2 separate regions of the Homo sapiens genome follow, and region 2 is linked to region 1. The links are contacts of gene promoters, found by promoter capture Hi-C in human tissues and cell types (Jung and others, 2019). All regions are on one chromosome and are shown on one strand. Each heading gives the region's core, a stretch centred on a gene start or on the middle of the fragment in contact. The rest is flanking DNA. Distances are from core to core; before and after follow the strand shown. Region 1 holds the start of C5 (complement C5). Region 2 has its middle 16 kb from the start of MEGF9.

Region 1 (3,907 bases), core at 1,093-3,592:
ACTCATTGTGTCATTACAACCACTCTGTGAGGAACTATTACTCCAATTTTAAGGTGAAGAAACTGCTAATTAATTTTCCCAAGGCCACACATATAGGATTTATGAATTCTATAATTCACAAATTATAGAATTAGAAATCGAACCTGAGCAGCCCGTTTCCAGAATTAACATTTTCAACTGTTGTACTAAATGGAATTTATAAAGAGTTTTGTAATTAGAAAAATTTAGGGATATAAAGCTACTTTAATTTCAGTATTTATAGAAGCTTTATGTTTTTAAGTTTAGTATTGCTTTAATTTTGAATTGTGTATGGTAGGGGTCCCCAACCCCTGGGCCATGGACAAATACCAGTCCATGGCTTGTTAGGAACCAGGCTACACAGCAGGAGGTGAGCAGTGGGGCAAAGGAGCATTACCACCTGAGCTCTGCCTCCTGTCAGATCAGTGGTGGCATTAGATTCTCCTAGGAGCATGAACTCTATTGTGAACCGCACATGCGAGGGATCTAGATTGCAAGCTCCTTATGAGAATATAATGCCTGATGATCTGAAGTGGAACAGTTTCATTCTGAAACCATCCCCACCCCAATCCTGGTCCATGGAAACATTGTCTTCCACAAAACCTGTCCCTAGTGCCAAAATGGTTGGGGACTGCTGGTCTATGTGATGGTAGCCGTCAAGCAAAAATACATAGTGTTTAGAAGCCCCTAAAAGAATATTCTGGAACCACCCTTTATAAAGATTTTGGTTCTTATTGACTTATCAGTAGCATAATCTATCCATATAAATAATTTCATAGTTTTCTTTGTCTTTCAATTGCTGCAGAGGAGCAGGAGCTTGCAGAGAGGCAAGAATGTTATTTTGGCCTCTATCTGGAATGCTCTTTCCTCAAATATTTGCATGGTTTGCTTCCTCACTTCCTTCAGGCTCTGTTTGAGTGCAGCCTCCTTAAGAGAACCTTTCCTGGCCACATTTTAAAATAGTGCCCCATAATTATTTTTTAATTCTCATACTCTGCTTTATTTTTTTCTTCATAATACTACCTACCTGACCTTACACATTCTTTCATTGGTTCATTCATTCATTACTTGCTTCTCCCACTAGAATGCAAGCTCTAGGAATTGTCTTACCGTTTGCTATATCTGCAGTGCCTATCATATGTTTAGATGCTCAATAAATATTTGTTGAATCAATCAATCAACCAATTAATTAAAGTGATTGATTGCCATGTTGTAAATGGTACACTCTGACTTCTTCAGAGAAAGTGAGGAAATAATTTTTATTAAGGGCTAGTAGAAAGAATTCAGAATAAGTCTGGACAAGAATCATGGAACCCAGGTCCTAGCCCTAGTTCTGCCACCAATTTGAAGTCACTTAATTTCAGTCTCTCTAAGCCTTAGCTGCTCGTCTTTCAAAAAGAATAAAGGCAGGATGCTAAGGTAGTTGAGTGCTTGTGGCCATGTAAAAAGATCACAGATCAGAAATACGAGGGTGCTAAAAAAGAATGACATCCTAAGTATGTGTTTATATATAATATATTTACATGTATACATTTATGACAAAATGAAAAAAATTGAAGTGATAAACAGGAGACCTTAATAAAAATCCTGTTTCTCTCTCTCTAGAACTGTGACCTTTGGTCAGTCACTTCCCTTATCTGGACTTATTCTCATATATAAAATGAATAGGTTTGATTAGATGATCTGCAGTTACTTTTCAGTATTAAAATATTTCTAGATATAAGATCATTATTTTTAAAACATTACTTAAAATGCATATTATCTCAATAATGACACTAAAAATTGTGAAAAGTCAGCTCATAAATGTATGGTAGAAGTCACTACAACAACAGATTTTCAGATCACAGTATTAGATTGACTCCTAAATAACCCTGGTTTAACTGTGTATAGTCTATGAAAAACACAAAGAAAACTAAACACCAAGTTAAAATAAGCAAAAAATGTCAAGAAAGTTTATTATCTGGAGTTTCTTTTGTGCTTTTTTGAAGAGGAATTTGAATAATCACTTAACGTAAATTTTAATAAATAACAATTCCATAAAAGCTGTCATGTTGTTAGCTACTCATCAAATCAAAATGCTTCCATGACTTTCTCATTCAGAGATGATACTATTCACTTGCTGTTCTCAGAAGTAGCAAGTTATTTTCAAGTTAACAGAATCTGTTAAATTTAACTCTTCATTCGTCATAACTAAGATGCATTGAAAAATGAAGATAGCTTGTTTTACTTACGTTTGCTCCTGTCCCCAGGTTTTCCCCAGGAAGATTAAAAAACAAAGTATTCCCAAAAGGCCCATGGTTGGAGGTAGCAGGAAACCACGGATATAACACTTTTGAGGATAGTCTCCTTTTAAATAAACTGAACTTGAAGAATTCAGATAATCTGGTTAATTATTAATGTCAGAAAGGTGAACCTCTAAGTGGGAAAACTAGAATTGGAACTAAAACACCCTTTCATGCCCAGGAATACAGATAGGGAGTACTTTACAGGAACTTACACCCAGGGAATTTATTTTTATTAATACAAATAAAGGGACCCTAAAATGGGAATTTGGCACTATGAAGAGTGGCTCAAAGCTAGAAACCAGTAAGCCCATTGCTTTGGCCTTTCTTCTCTTGCCCAGGGCATTTGCTTTGATGTTGCATCATCTGCAAGCATACATCTGGCAGGTCCACTCTAATACTGATGAAGACCCACCTGGACTCAGTTTCACACTGAAATGATTTTAGAAGGGGCCTGGTTTAGACAGGGCTCACAAGATGATCTTTTTTTGGTGACCTGAATGGCAGTGTCCTTGGTGCTGCAAATGGTCTGAGCATAACCTAGCTCTGCAAAGGAGGTCTAGGGAATTGTTCCTTGGTCTGTCTCAGTCTAGAGAACACTAGGTGGAGGAAAGTTGTGACTGGCAATGAAAACGCCATGTGGAGGATGCTGTCGTCATTCTCTAAGTATTGGAGAATAGATATTCTCCAATATTTATTAAGGCATATACCACTCGTTCAAAGTTTGTCTTTATTCAGATATAGAATATCTTTCTTTTAAAGAAAACACATGTTATACTTTTCAGTGAGGATTTTAATAATTTTAATATAAGAGCTCCAGAAAAACAAAGCTTCCTATAACAATTGAGTCTAGTAATTAATTCACAATATACTAAAATTTTATCTTTATACTTTTTTTTTTTTTTTTGGAGACAGAGTCTCTTTCTGTCGCCCAGGCTGGAGTCTAGTGGCACTATCTTGGCTCAGGGCAACCTCTGCCTCCCAGGTTCAAGGCATTCTCCTGCCTCAGCCTCCCAAGTAGCTGGGACTACAGGCATGTCCCATCACATCCAGCTAATTTTTTGTATTTTTAGTAGAGGTAGGGTTTCACCGTGTTGGCCAGGCTGGTCTCGAACTCCTGACCTCAGGTGATCCACCCACCTTGGCCTCCCAAAGTACTGGGATTACAGGCATGAGCCACTGTGCCTGGCTGATTTTTAATTAAGTTAATTTTTATGATGTTTTATGTTCATTAGAATTTTTTTATTTACTACCTTCTCTTTTTTAGTACTATTTTTACCTTAATATATAATATGTACTCTTCTTTAAAATAATAAAACAGATGTCTCTAAACATATTTCTATAATGAGATATTTATGATATATAAATGAGATATTTATGGTCACATTGGCATTCTTTGCTTTGAATTAATAAATAATAAACCAAAAATATTTATAAACACTTTAATGCTGAATTCACTAGGGAAAAAAGGAGCACAAAGGGAAATTTGATATACAAATTTCACTAAAGGTATCTCTTGCATATGTCATTGAAATGACAAACATTTGCCACTATTGTCTGATCATCTAGCCCATTTATTTCAAAAGGGAATCTGTGAAATGATTAAG
Region 2 (3,905 bases), core at 1,173-3,672, 320 kb before region 1:
GGTTACCTCCCCACCCTGTCTTTAGTTTCCCCATTGCTAAGATAGAAGGAGGAAAGAGTGGGGATTTTTTTTTTTCCAGACGGAGTCTCACTCTGTCACCCAGGCTGGAGTGCGGTGGTGCGATCACGGCCCACTGCAACCTCTGCCTCCCGGGTTCAAGCAAATCTCCTGCCTCAGCCTCCTGAGTAGCTGGGACTACAGGCACATGCTACCATGACCAGCTAATTTTTGTATTGTTTTTAGTAGAGATGGGGTTTTGCCATGTTGGCCAGGCTGGTCTTGAACTCCTGACCTCATGTGATCTGACTGCCTTGGCCTCTCAAAGTGCTGTGATTACAGGTGGCTCACACCTGTAAGATAATCAATTAACAAATAAAAGAGTGGGGATTCTAAGGCCTTTTTCAGCCTTCACATTTTGAACAATCGCTGCTACTGTTGGTGTTCCACTTCTCCGAGCTGGACAGTGACCGAAAAAGAATGTCACCTTGGGGCCCTTTACCAAAACAAAGGCTTGCTGGCAACCTCGGATGGCAGTGGCACCTTCCAGAAAGCAGGACCCATGCTGGATGGGAAGCCCATGGCTTATGTCCCCTGAGTCCACAGATCTCCAGTTCAGACGCTTCTCATCACTCCTGTCCCTGCCAGGACACTCACTGGTTTCAAGCTCCTTGAACCAGGCCCATTCCTGTCCCTTTTAATGTTCCAGTGGGAGTCTGAGTAATGACAGCATTCTGGATACCATCCTTTCCAGGATGTGGCCAGAAGACGCAGATGGAGTTTACATCCTAAGGGGTCCCGTTTTGATTTTTCTGTGAGCCAAAAACCCCAGGGCTTTCTCACATGCGCTGCTCCAGGCTCCATCTTTTGCCATTGAGGGTTTTGTATTCACTGTCCTGGAATTAAAAGTGTTCTCAAGGGATGCAGCATTGAGTCTTTCTCCTCATGTCTCAGGATCTTCATCATGAGAATACAATCATAAGCCTGCAAGAGATCCCCTTACATCAAAGTCATTCAATCCAAACCCTTCTCGCTGACACAGAACTCCGTAAACTGTAAAGCACTGTTGTACATTATTAATTCACATATTATTCCTTCTGTACCTTATAAAAGTCCTAGTTTGGGCAGGGCTAGGATTACCAGATAAAATGCAAGATGTCCAGTTAAATTTAAAATTCAAATTTAACTAGGCATCTTGTGATTTGATCCATTAAATCTAGCAGCCCTTGATGGGATCAACAGTCCCATTTTGCAGAACTGAAGCTCAAAGGGATGAAAGGATTTTACCCAAACTGCTTGAGAGCAGGGACTATGTCTGACTTTTTAAAAATATTTTTTTCAAACATGAGAAGTATATTCCCTTAAAGCCAGTGTATCAGTCCATTTAGCAGTGATCTAAAAGATTTATGCTTTGTGAAAAGCCTATTCATCTATGAATAGAGAATCTATGCCCTGTGTCTGTGTAGGTGTATATGTTGCACAGAACATTAAAAAGTTAATAAATTCATTTTTAATCCCCAGTTCCCAAGTTGGGGTTAGCTCAGAGAAGATGCTTGAGAAATGTTTACTCAACTATTGGGCTTTCTGAATCTTTCATTCCTACAAGAACCCTACAGAATGAAAAAGAAATTGCTGGCTCAGGACAAAGAATGGCCCCAGAATGCAGTGTCAGGCTTCCCTGATCTTCCTACATGGCTGTGCCAAAGATGAGTTGAGTTTCAGGAAAGTGCAGTGAAACTATCAGCAGTGAAACTATCACATCATGAAATAGTCATGGGCCTCACGAAAAGGCTTCTTGTCATTACACTTCCTTCCTGCTCCAGGTTTAAGACCACAGGGAGGCTTCCCTAAGGCTGCCAAATACAGCGAGGTCTTGGCATAAATGTTGCCCAAGGAGTCCTTACACCATCAAAGGCAGAGGCACAAAGTCCCTTTCCTGCCCTTTGGATGAGTAGACCTGTTGGGGGCGCTGGTGGGACAGCCCCCAGGTGGCTTCTAGACTTAGCTCATCTCCCTCCTGATGGACAGCTCAGGATCTGTCCACTGACAGATCACATACTTTTTTCAGCTGCCCAGCCAGAGCTGTGAATAAACACAGACTCTCCGAGAAGACTTGAGCTGCCGATGACAGAGGTCAGGGGTCTTGGTTCCATTCCAGGCTGTCAGCTAAGAAAGAGGATCTGCTGAAGAATTGGAGCCTGGGCATGAGCTCTTGCCATGGATGGAACTTTTTTCATGTGTGAGGTTCACCAGTTAATCCTAGAACGTTAGAGTTAGAAGAGATGGCCTTAAAAAGCACCTAGGTCAGGCCACGCATGGTGGCTCACGCCTGTAATCCCAGCACATTGGGAGGCCAAGGCGGGCAGATCACCTGAGGTCAGGAGTTCGAGACCAGCCTGACCAACATGGAGAAACCCCATCTCTACTAAAAATACAAAATTAGCTGGGCGTGGTGGCACATGCCTGTAATCCCAGCTACTTGGAAGGCTGAGGCAGCAGAATCGCTTGAACCCAGGAGGCAGAGGTTGCAGTGAGCCAAGATCGTGCCATTGCACTCCAGCCTGGGCAACAAGAGCGAAACTCCATCTAAAAAAAAAAAAAAAAAAAGCATCTAGGTCTAATCCAAACATTCTTCCAGGAAGACACACCAAGGCTCAGAGCAGGAAAGGACTCATTCAAGCTCACATGATAACTTGGCAGCAGAACCAGGCCTGGAATGCATATTTCTTCTTGGTGCTGCATTCCTGATTCAGAAGAGCAGCTCTCCCTGCTAAGCAAACAGCAGGTGGGCGGATGTGGTCACTAATCAGTGCACTGGCACTGTGGGTCATTGAGCTTTAACCCCAGAGCACCATTAACAGCTTAACCCAGTCTGTCACCCTCTCCTCCCTGGAGGCCCTGCAGTCCTCAGGATTAGAAATAAACTGCTCTCAGCCAAGCCCCTGAAATAGGAGATGAAATGGCCCACAGAGACCATCCAATTTAGTTCCCCCAGTGATGCCGAATCCCCACCCTCTGTGCTGGGAAGCAGTTCCAGTGACCAATGAGCTCAGTGAGCTTGCAGGTGTGTGGGCAGGCTGCACAGAAGCAGAGGGTGGCGAGTGGACCACAGGGGGATGGATGGGCATGGAACTGGTGCAGTTAAGCATCGGCGTTCCCATTCTGTCTCCTGTCAGCTCTGTTCTCAAGTCCTTTTGCTATTACACTAAAGCCCATCTCTGTGAACTTCTGTCTACTGGGTCCAGCTCAGATCCCTGGAGCCCAGGCCACACCCCTTGTGAAGCTGCTAAATTAGGCGGGAACCCTGGTCTGCATGCAGGACTGGCTGCCTGGCTCTGTTCCCTGCCAAGCCAATATCTGTATACCACTTAGGAGAAAAACTCTAAAGCCAAATGAGGAAAAGCAAGGACGGCTCTGCCTGTGATCCTTGGATGGATCCCCTGTATGTGCCAGCACTATTCTCAGCTCTTAGCAGAGAACAGAAAGGCTCTGTTGCTGTTCTCATGGAGTTTATGTTCTGGTTAGGGAGCCAGAGAGTATATGGGTACCTAAATAAATCAGATAATTTCAGAAAATGACAGTGCTAAGAAGAAAACACAGACTAATAATGGGATAGAAAATGACTCCGGGGTGGCATGTCACTTTCACAAGCATGGTCAAGGAAGCCATCTGGGAGAAGGTACACATTGAGCTGAGGCCTGAATGAGAACGAGGAGGCAGGCTGGGGAAGACCAGGGAGACAGAATGGTAAATGCAAAGTCTCATAGACAGACACAAGCTTCGTATGTGTTTGAGAGGGAGAAAAAAGCTGGAATGGGTAGAATATAGCAAATGAGAGAGAGAAAATCTGAAAGGAAGTTTTGGTCTGAGCCACAGTCTAGTGCGCTGAGCTGGGCTAAAGGTTAAAT

What was found. The method cuts DNA at HindIII sites, captures the fragments that hold promoters and counts their contacts. A contact is called where the count stands out against the background at its distance.
Region 2: a contact is called between a fragment that was not itself captured here and the fragment with the promoter of C5 in region 1, in 1 of the 25 tissues and cell types used here (H1 embryonic stem cells).

What each region holds. Positions count from the first base shown.
Region 1 is chr9:121,047,933-121,051,839 of GRCh38, forward strand. It overlaps C5 (complement C5), which reads right to left and starts at 2,343. Exons shown (of 41, transcript NM_001735.3): 1 at 2,250-2,343. The coding sequence starts at 2,314. The HindIII fragment of the contact is 13,591 bases long and covers 1-3,907 here.
Region 2 is chr9:120,728,047-120,731,951 of GRCh38, forward strand. No RefSeq gene overlaps it. Among named protein-coding and RNA genes, the nearest start is that of MEGF9, 16 kb to the left of the region's middle. The HindIII fragment of the contact is 5,003 bases long and covers 1-3,905 here.